4 separate regions of the Homo sapiens genome follow, and regions 1, 2 and 4 are each linked to region 3. The links are contacts of gene promoters, found by promoter capture Hi-C in blood cells and fetal thymus (Javierre and others, 2016). All regions are on one chromosome and are shown on one strand. The core of a region is centred on a gene start or on the middle of the fragment in contact, and the rest is flanking DNA. Distances in the headings are between cores, read along the strand shown. Region 1 overlaps MNAT1 (MNAT1 component of CDK activating kinase). Region 2 overlaps MNAT1 (MNAT1 component of CDK activating kinase). Region 3 holds the start of MNAT1 (MNAT1 component of CDK activating kinase). Region 4 overlaps MNAT1 (MNAT1 component of CDK activating kinase).

What was found. The method cuts DNA at HindIII sites, captures the fragments that hold promoters and counts their contacts. A CHiCAGO score of 5 or more calls a contact.
Region 1: a fragment that was not itself captured here is called in contact with the fragment with the promoter of MNAT1 in region 3 in 1 of 17 cell types (endothelial precursors); the score reaches 7.9 in endothelial precursors.
Region 2: a fragment that was not itself captured here is called in contact with the fragment with the promoter of MNAT1 in region 3 in 1 of 17 cell types (endothelial precursors); the score reaches 5.4 in endothelial precursors.
Region 4: a fragment that was not itself captured here is called in contact with the fragment with the promoter of MNAT1 in region 3 in 1 of 17 cell types (endothelial precursors); the score reaches 5.2 in endothelial precursors.

The regions. Positions count from the first base shown.
Region 1 is chr14:60,953,621-60,956,320 of GRCh38, reverse strand. All of the region lies in intron 7 of MNAT1 (MNAT1 component of CDK activating kinase), which reads right to left. Among named protein-coding and RNA genes, the nearest start is that of TRMT5, 26 kb to the left of the region's middle. The HindIII fragment of the contact is 418 bases long and covers 1,094-1,511 here.
Region 2 is chr14:60,930,668-60,933,405 of GRCh38, reverse strand. The region is part of intron 7 of MNAT1 (MNAT1 component of CDK activating kinase); the gene reads right to left. Among named protein-coding and RNA genes, the nearest start is that of TRMT5, 49 kb to the left of the region's middle. The HindIII fragment of the contact is 3,764 bases long and covers 1-2,738 here.
Region 3 is chr14:60,733,402-60,736,101 of GRCh38, reverse strand. It overlaps MNAT1 (MNAT1 component of CDK activating kinase), which reads right to left and starts at 1,341. Exons shown (of 8, transcript NM_002431.4): 1 at 1,151-1,341. The coding sequence starts at 1,239. RefSeq lists enhancers at 1,048-1,117, 1,228-1,327. The HindIII fragment of the contact is 2,495 bases long and covers 1-1,943 here.
Region 4 is chr14:60,901,589-60,904,288 of GRCh38, reverse strand. All of the region lies in intron 7 of MNAT1 (MNAT1 component of CDK activating kinase), which reads right to left. Among named protein-coding and RNA genes, the nearest start is that of TRMT5, 78 kb to the left of the region's middle. The HindIII fragment of the contact is 4,594 bases long and covers 1-2,700 here.

The sequences.
Region 1 (2,700 bases), core at 53-2,552, 220 kb before region 3:
AGAAAAACTAGAAAATTCACAAACGTGGAAATTAAACAACACACTCATGAACAATCAATGGTTCAAGAAGAAATCAAAAGGGAAGTTTTGATTCTCAAGAAAAATATCTTAAGAATAATGAAAAAGTAAACATAACACACCAAAATTTATGGTATGTAGCCAAAGCAGTCCTGAGAAATTTATACTAATAAAAGACAATACTTAAAAAGAAAAAAAATCTCAAATAACCTGATATTACACTTTAAAGAACTAGTTAGTGTAAGGAAGCCCAAAGTTACAGTCAGGATGGAAATAAAGATCAGAGTAGAAATAAAATAGAGATTAGACATACAATAGAAAGAAAAAAAATCAATGAAACTAAAAGTTGGTTTTTTTAAAAACATAAAACTCACAAACCTTTAGCTAGATTAACTAAGAAAAAAGAAAGAAGACTCAAATACATAAAATTAGAAATGAAGGAGGAGATATTACAATTGAGGCCACATAGGTATGAAAAAAATCACTAAACAATTATACACCAATAAATTGGAGAACTCAGAAAAAATGGATAAATTCCTAGACACAGACAACCTACCAAGACTGAATTATAAAGCAATAAAAATTGTAAACAAACCAATAGAAAGTAAGGAGATTGAATCTTTTATTTATTTATTTATTTAGAGACAGAGTTTTGTTCTTGTTGCCCAGGTTTGAGTGCAATGGTGCGATCTTGGCTCACTGCAACCTCCGCCTCCTGGGTTCAAGCAATTATCTTGCCTCAGTCTCCCAGTAGCTGGGATTACAGGCACCCACCACCACGCCCAGCTGATTTTTGTATTTTTAGTAGAGATGGGGTTTCACCATGTTGGCCAGGCTGGTCTTCAACTCCTGACCTCAGGTGACTCACCTGTCTCGGCCTCCCAAAGTGCTGGGATTACAGGTGTGAGCCACCACACCTGGCCTGAATCTATAATTTTTTTTTTAATGTCATTAAAGAAAAGCTTAGAACCTGATGGCTTCATTGCTGAATTCTCCTAAATGTTCAAAAAAGAATTAATACCAATCCTTCTTCAAATTTTTCTAAAAACTGAAAAGGAGACAATACTTCCAAGCTTATTTTATGAGGCCTGCATTACCCTAATACAAAAGCCAAACAAGGATATTAAAGAAAAGAACTATTACAGTCTAATATCTATAATGAACACAGATGTAAAAATCTTCAACAAAATATTAGCAAACCAAAATCAACAGCATATTAAAAGAATCAATACACTATGATCAAGTAGGATTTGTCACAGGGATGCAACATATGGAAATCTATGAAAATGATACACCACATTAACATAATGTACAAAAACCATATGATCATCTCAATAAATATAAAAAAAGCATTTAACAAAATTCAACGTCCTTTCATGATAAAAACTATCAACAAATTACATATAGAAGGAATGTACCTCAACACAATAAAGGCCATATATATATAAAATACGATAGCTAACATCACACTAAACTGTTAAAAGTTGAAAGCTTTTCCTTTAAAATTAGGAATAAGCCAAGAATGCCCACTCTTGCCATTTCTGTTCAACATAATACTGGAAGTTATAGCCAGAGCAATTAGGCAAAAGAAGAAATAGGAAAAGTTACATTGTCTCTGTTTGCAGATAACATGATCTTATTTATAGAAAACCCTAACAACTCCACCAAAAAACTGTTGAAACTAATTGATTCAGTAAAGCTTCAGCATGCAAAATCAGCATACAGAAATTAGTAGCACCTCCATACACTAACAAGGAGCTGTCTGAAGAAGAAATCAAGAAAACAATCCCATTTACAATAGCTACCAAAACAAACAAAAACAAAACAAAAAACCCCAACAATTTAAAAACAAATTTAACCAAGGAGGTGAAGATCTATACACTGAAAACTATAAAACTCTGATGAAAGACATTGGAGACAAAAGTAAATGAAAAAATATTCCTTATTCATGGAATGGAAGAATTAACATTGATAAAATGTCCATAAAATCCAAAGTGATCAACAGATTCAATGATTCCATCACTGAATTCTAATCACATTTTTCTATCAAAATTCTTATGACATTTTTCACAGAAATAGAGAAAAGAATCCTAAAATTCATGTGGAATAACAAAAGACCTTGAATAGGCAAATAAAGCTTAAGGAAATGAACAAAGAGGCATGTAAATATCACCTGATCTCAAAGTATACTACAAAGCTAAAGTAATCAAAACAGCCTGGTACTGGCATAAAAACAGTATACACCAATGGAACAGAACAGAGAACCTAGAAAGGGGCTAATATACAAAATATATAAAGAACACAAACAACTCGATAGCAAGAAAACAAATAACCTGATTAAAAAATGGGCAAATGACTGGAATAGACATTTCTCAAAGGAAGACATACAAATGGCCAAAAGGTATGTGAAAAAACTTTAACATCACTAATCACCAGGCAAAACAAATTAAAATCACAATGAGGTATCACCTCACACCTGTTAGGATGGCTACTATGAAAAAGGCAATATATAACAAGGGTTCGCAAGGGTGTGGAGAACAGAGAACCCCTAGTACAGTGTTAATGAGAATGTAAATTGTAAAGCCATCATGGAAAACAGTACGGAAGTTCCTCAAAAAATTAAAAACAGAACTACCATATGCACTCCTTATTAGTGTTTTGAAAGATGAAACATGAAAATTT
Region 2 (2,738 bases), core at 3-2,502, 200 kb before region 3:
TAGTCTTCCTTAAAGATAAACTGAATTTTTATTTCAATAATTAGGAAATAAATGCTACACTGAACTAAATGCCAAAATTATACGGAAGAACGGCAATACAACAATTTATCATTGTGTCGATATGCCTAATTGATCAAATTAGAAGAAGAAAAAAAGGAGAGAAAGGAAAGGTAGAAAATCTCAATAGACCTAAAATCAGTATAATACAAATAGATTCTAAGGGACCGGACTTTCTATATTATACTTCAATATTCTACCAGTCAGTATTCTAGGCTCTTCCATATATTACCTCATTTAGTACTCAAAACAACCCCATTAGATATCTCCATTTCATAAAGGAGGAAACAAAGACACAGAATGTTAGGTAGGTTACCTGCCTAGGGTTATAAACCAAGCAAAACAGCCAAGATTTGAACTCAGGCAATATAATTCCAAAAATTCTCTCAACTCCTACACTGTACTGCATATTATTATTATTTACAAAGTGATTCATATATCTTCAAAGTTTTGTTTTTAAGATTATGGTTATATTTATCAAATCAAATTTTCTGAAAATGTAACACAGTATACACCAAATTATGATGCAAAAACACTGATATTTAGCTATTCAGAAATAAGTATGATCTCTAACACATAGCTTTAAAAATGATAAATCCTAGAGCACAGGATAAGAAATAGATAACAACTGTATGGTCATCTATTATGTTTAACTATTGGGAATTAATGTCAGTAGTGCAGAATAAAATTCTTACCTGGCATTCAGTATGAGATATATAAATATATAAAAACAGTTAAAAATAGTTTTCTAAAGTGGTAAACTAAAATCTATCTAACATTTAAAGAATAAAGAAAAGAAAAAAACAGAGCTGAAATACCTGCACACTCCACGTAAGACAGTTTCTTGAACTATATTAATCATTATTTAACCATGTCTTTAAAGGAGGGAAAAAACCTCCAAATTTTCTAAAAATGGAAACCTCTTTTAAAAAAATGAAATGAAATGCTGTACTAAGTGGAATTACAGTTCTGGAATGCAAGTGTTAATTATTTTATGATGAACCAACAATGAACACCTATAGCATAATTTAAGGCTGCTGTAGTTTTACAAGGATAGAAGAAAAACTAAATATTATTCTCTAAAAAAGTGATTTTATACTACAAATGAAACAAAAATTTAAGAAATATGAGCGAATTAAAAACTAGTATGTCAGTCTTATTTTAGACTAAACTTACATAAGAAAAAAGATAACAGAACTCTAATGTAACCTAATATATAGGTTTGTACAAGCAAAAATTAAAGACATATACTAGAAAACTTGATAATATAAAATTGATTAAAACTAACATCCTTATAATATGAAGTTTTTATCAGAAAAAATTAGTAAGAGTAAGAAGTATGAATATTCTAGAAATGGCAAATATTTACACACAAACTTAATTCAATGGACAAATAACACACTTAATTCTCAAAATGACTGAATTAAAAAATTTAAAAAGTAGGCTCAGTATCTAAGGGAGTATATAATTAATTCACCATTGTTTTTTTAAAAAAAAACTTTGAGGATGTTTTTAAAATCTTCTACCTTGACAATTAAGCAGCTCTTTTCAGAGTGTCAAAGGTTATAGATATATACACACACACCATATATATACACACATATATATATATGCATTAAAGTAAGTAGTACTATTCTCCCACACTGACTAAATCAAAAATATTAAGGGTCTTACATATTAAATATACAATTCAGGTCTACGATATGTATCTACAGACATATTTTTGAAATAAGAAAAAAGTTAGAGAAATATGAATAAAAAACATTTCAAGTTACACCCAGTGCTGCAATGGGCTTTGTTATCACAGAATCTTTTACAGTCTACCTATTTTGGTCCAGCCCAGCTGCTGTGGCAAGTGGTAGTGGTGAATCAGAAGGAAGCGGCAGCTGCACATACTCTCTGGCAGCAGAATAAATGCAGTCCCTGTCCCCAATTATTTCTCTCCCTGGCCTTTCCCTGACACAGGCAACAAAAGTGAGTAGTGAGAAAGCAAGCCTGAGCAGCTGCCTTAATCATTCAGATCCCTGCTGCAGCTCTCACACAAAGACTTGTGTCTAAGTGGCATATTCTATAGGCTGTGCAAAACTCTGAAGGAAGCCTGAACCCTATGAAAGTCATCACAGAGCCATCCAGACACTCAAGCCAAAAACCTTGGAATTTTCCTAGACTCATTCCTTACCCTGCACCTGAAGTCAGTGGCCAAGTCCTTTCAATTCTATCCCTTCAGTCTCAAATCCATTCCCTCAACTCCATCCTCACTGCTTACAACTCTCTTATTTTGGCACTTTATTTTACTTCAGGCTTCTCAAATACATGATCCATACTGCTGCCTTCAGAAGTATTTTTTCTAAAATATAAATCTGAATATCTCAATTATTTAAACGTCTTCCATAGCTACCTATTACTAAGAGTGTATGGTTCAGAGCCTAGTTACTGAGATAGCAGTGGTTTTCAACCTTGATTTAAGACACACAGGAACAAAAAGGGGGAAAGGAGTATTACTCAAAATACTTAATATGATAAATAAGATTCTTCATGATTTGATCCTAACTAGTTTCTTGTCACTTTATGTTACAAACCCTGTGCTCCAGTCAGACTGAACTACTTACATTTCCCTCAAGGCACCCTGTTCTGTCAAATCTCTGAATCCTTCTGTTCTGACGGAATGTTCTGTTCATGCT
Region 3 (2,700 bases), core at 92-2,591:
TGCAGAGTAAAGCAAAGGAAAATAAAGATCAATTAGAAAAGTTAAGTAAGCTAATAAATTCCATATAATAATTATAGCTACAGCTAATCATGCAATTTATGCTTACCTAAAGACCCTGTCATTGCTCTACATTTTTGTCAGCACTTGGGGGGTTGGGAGGAGACCTTGTCTACACACTGTAGATTATCCATTATTTTTTGCCTCCAATAAACCTGAAAGAAACTACAGGAATATATGCTCGCCATTACATGGCACCTTTTTATCTCAAAGTGCTTTCTAGAACCACCTTCACTAAACCACATCTGACAAGAAATCTGGCAAGAAACACTTTGACCAATCCCTGTTTCAAAATACACAAACTCAACCTCCCTCCTTCTGCCCCCTTCCCCTGAAAATGGGCGTTCTAAAGTCAGACTTCCTGGGTTCCAATTCTCTCAAGGCCCACTTAATAAGGGACCTTGAGCAGTCTCGATTTCCTTCCCTGTGAAATGGAAATACCAGTATCTACTTCATGGGACTGTTGTAGGAATGAACTGAGATAATTCATGGTAAGGCGCTTAGAACACTGTCTGGCACAAAATGTGCACTCAAATGCCAGCCATTATTATATCTTCAAAATTAACTACCTACAGTCCGGGTTTTCTTCATTTTAGTGATGGGAGTCTAACCGAACTCCATCAGGACAAGTGGGCATACACACAGGGTTTTTTAATTAACTCATACAATAAATAGCAGCAGTATATACTCAAGCAAATTTTAAGTTTTCATAGCACTTTCGCACTTTTTCAATAAAAACATTTCATATGAAATAAACACTCCAATCCCCCACGCTTTTAATCAGCGATGTCCAGAGCCCAGTAAACAACACAAAGCCTGGAAATACAGTCGGGATACTCATTGGCTATGGAAGGGGGAACCTGACAAACTGCTGGATGCCACACTGAGAACCCGCAGTTCAAAGCAGGCCAGAGCCGCTCGGGGCTAGCGGCTACAGTCTATTTAAAGTCACAACGCCTTCTTTTCCCATTTTCCTCCCCAGTGTTGAAACTAACAACGCCCTTTGCTCCCAAGACGAGGCCTAGCATCTCCCGGTCCTCTCCTCCCACCCAGCGCGTCTCTCCCCCAGGGAATCCACTGCCGCCCAACTCACAGAGTGTGTCCGCACACATTCACCATCAGCTTCAAGGAGGGGTTCCGATATTTGGTGGTCTTACACCGAGGGCAACCCTGATCGTCCATGGCGGTTTCCCTCCTACAGACTCTCGCAGGCGCCTGTTTCAGCCAGAGCCACCTACAAGCCCCCTCAGACGCGACCAAGCAGGTTCCTACCAACAGGCGCTTGGCAGAGACGGTCCCTTCGCGAAAGAGCACCGGCAAGGGGCGAGGCGCTGCAACACAAACGTTCCGGCAGTCAGTTCCCCCGGTCTTGCATCTAGGGCTTGGTCTTAGCCTTCCATAAAGCAACTTAATACCTTGAATTTGACAGGGGAACTTTTAAAATGGCAAATTATACAAAGCCTTATCTCCACGCACCCAGTTGCATTTTTCAAGGTACTGTGTCACAATTAGGAAGATAAATTCCATCTTGTTCTGTCTGGAAACATTCCCATGATTTCAAAGATTTATGAGCGGTGTACTTACTTTCTTTTGGACCATTTAATAGCCTGTGCTTTATACTTCTTTATAATTGCATAGTCATGTCAGCTCAGCTGATAATATGCATTCGCAGATACAAAATATGAAAAAGCTATCTACTCCATCAGACAGTATTTATTTCCCCAAATACCTAGGAAAAAATCATATAAGAATACATACAGAAAAATTTAGTTCTGCAATTCCAAGATCTGATAGCCTGAATATCTTTGTAAATTGTAAACCATGTTCATCACATTTATCAAGAAGGCAAATTGAAGTCTGTAAACAGCTCTATTAAATAATAAGCTTTCCCACTGTAAAGGACACATCTTATTCATCTCCAAAATAAAGATTTGTTGATTCTTAATGAGTAAGTAGACTAAGTGAAGAATTAATGAATGACTATCAAACAATAGTGTAATGTGAAAATTTTTAGTGTCAAACATTTTTTGTAACCACCTTCATCTGACCCAAACTCCATCAGAAGGGAACATGCAAACTAGATTTTTCAAATAATCTGATACAATGAGTATAAGCTATAAACATTTATAGTAATTTTAACTCATCATAGAACTTGTGTTCTTTTCAATAAAAAGTAATATTCAATTCACATTTTTAAACAGTGAACCTGGTAGGGAACCCAAAACCCAAAAATACAGTTGGGATTTCCATGGGTATAGAGAGGGATGCTGACAAACAGCTGGATACCACACCCAGGAACCAGCAGATCAAAGCAGGCTGTGACAGAGCTTTACATTAGTATGAAGACATCAAGGATTCATCTAATAAATAAACCATATCATCTCTTTGATCATAATATTGTTCCTCAACAGGAGTTAACCAAACATAAACTTACTAAAATAGGTAACACCAAATACTATGCTACTATGCTGACCCGGAGGCTTATTATGCTGCTGCTATTGTCTTATTGAAAGACCACATCCAGACCAGTTACATGATTCAGAGTGAAGCTCTTCAAGAACAAAGGCAACTCTAGTACTTTATATTTTGGACCATTTAATAGCCTGTGCTTTATACTTCTTTATAACTGCATAGTCATGTAAG
Region 4 (2,700 bases), core at 141-2,640, 170 kb before region 3:
TAAATTATATGTTATATACACATGCATATTGCAGTTTTTTTGTGATTTTTGTATTTTTCCACATTCTTTGATTTTCTGATGCCCCAAGACTTTCTGTAAAACTAACATATAAACTTAAGGTCGGGCACAGTGGCCCACGCCTGTAATCCCAGCACTTTGGGAGGCCAAGGCGGGTGGATCACAAGGTCAGGAGTTCAAGACCAGCCTGGCCAATATGGTGAAACCCCATCTCTACTAAAAAATACAAAAATCAGTCAGATGTGGTGGCGGGTGCCTGCAGTCCCCGCTACTCGGGAGGCTGAGGCAGGAGAATTGCTTGAACGTGGGAGGCAGAAGTTGCAGTAGGCCAAGATTGTGCCACTGCACTCCAGCCAGGCGACAGAGAGAAACTCCATCAAAAAGAAAAAAAAAAAAAAAAAAAAACTTACATGGGTAGCATCAAAAACAAAACAAAACTTAAATGAAACAACTACGTTTTCACCATTCTTACACAATCCATATATAATAAGTCAATATTATAAGGTAAAGACGAAGGTAAAGACTATGACCAAAAAGCAGTATACAGAATGCCACATTCTCTCATGGAAATTTTGGAATATAAGTAACACTTTCATATGTAAAAATTCTAAGTGATTTCCAGAAAAAAGCACAATCACAGTGAAAGCAGATTATACAAATATTCTATATCGTGGCTGTGCTGGTGGTTACAAACTGGATGTGTTTGTCAAAACTCATTGGAATATACAATAAAATAGGTATTTTATTGTATGTGAATTATGCTTTCATATAGCTGATTAAATTTAAATTTCTTAAGTGTTAAGATTTTTAAAGTATTATAGATTGCCTCAATTATTTTTCACTGGTAGAACGTAAACTAATCCATTTAAAACAAATTTCCTGAACTTGAAGTTTTCAGCTGAAATTCTACCTTTCCCAAACGCTATTTTAGGTAGGTAGCTATCTAGGAATATAGGAAGTACTTGCTATTGAAAAAATTTTTAATAATATTATACACCATTAGGTTCAAAAACTACATCAATAGATGCATAAAAGCATTCAATAAAATTAAATGTGAAGACGAAGATTTAATATATATTCATGATGCAATTCCTTCATTGTGATTTAGAAAATACATATATGTGATACAAAAAAACACTTAAACAGCGAATATAATACTTAATGATGAAACACTTGAGGCATTCACCAGAAAAAAAAACAGAAAGAAACTACAGTTATTAGAATTATACTTGGTCTAAAAGTTCTACAAGTTCTAGCCAAAATACAATAAAATATAAACCTAAAGTCACAAATATAGCATTGAAAAGAAAAAAAATTTTTTTTCAGCTGACTGACTCCTAGATAAAAACCCAGATATTCACCTAATAGAACTAGGTATAGAAACTATTAGAATTCAGTAAAATATTATGTAGAAAATTACATTTAATAGTTTTCATATATAACAGCAAGAACCAGTTAGAAAGCATGATGAAAACTTTATCACAACAGCATCAAAAGTAGAATATAATGAAAATTAATTTCCAAGAAATGTGTGATATATATAAAAACTAAGTATATTTTAAATGCCCATTCTTCTCTGATCAGATTGTAAGTTTAAATTCCAGGTACAATCCCAAAAGGATTGGTGTTTGATTACTATATAGGGGGATGGATGTATCTTATTAGCTAAGTTGTTGGTGGCTTTTGATGTTTCATTACTTGATTCACAGTATTTTATAAAAATTTTCAAATGTACACAAATTTTGAAACAATTATGGAGTGCTTTGTTGCTTTTGCCAACAAAGTTTACTTCAAAGTATAAATGTATAAAAATGCTTAGAATATTTTGAGAAAGATAAGTAGCAAGAGAAAACCTATCTCGCTTGTAGTAGGCAGAATTTAGACATGGCCCTCAATATTCTACCCCGTTGTATCCATTCCTTGCATAATTCTCAGTCCTTGGGTATAAATAGGACCATCAATTTGACAGTCTTCATTGCTGTGATTATATTATATATAAAAAATGATTTTGCAAATGTAGTTAAAATCCCAAATAAATAGATTATGTATTAATGAAAAATGATAATGATCCTCTGGGCCATCGGCTAGTCCTAATCTTTTTGCTGATGAAAGCTCTTGCCTGGATGTTGATATCTGCTTTACTGATCACAATGGTGGTTGCTGAAGACTGGGGAGGTCATAGCAATTTCTTAAAATAAGACAATAATAAAGTTTGCTGCGTTGATTGACTCTTCCTTTCACAAAAGATTTCTCTGTAGCACATAATGCTGTTTAATAGCATTTTACTTACAGCAGAACTTCTTTAAAAATTAGAGGCAATCCTCTCAAACCCTATCACTGCTTTATCAGCTCAGTTTATATAATATTCTAAATCTTTTGTTGTCATTTCAACAATGTTCACAGCATCTTCACCAGGAGCAGATTCCATCTCAAGAAACCACTTTCTTTACTCATCCCTGAGAGTCAGTTTCTCATTTGTTCAAGTTTTATTATAAGACTGTAGTAATTCAGTCATATCTTCAGTCTCCACGGCTAATTCTAGTTTTCTTGCTATTTTCACCCCATTTGCGGTTACTTCTTCCAACAAAATCTCAAACATGGGGTTGGAATTAACTTCTTTCAAATTCCTGATAATGCTGATATTCTGACCTCCTCCCATGGATCACAAATATTCCTAATGCA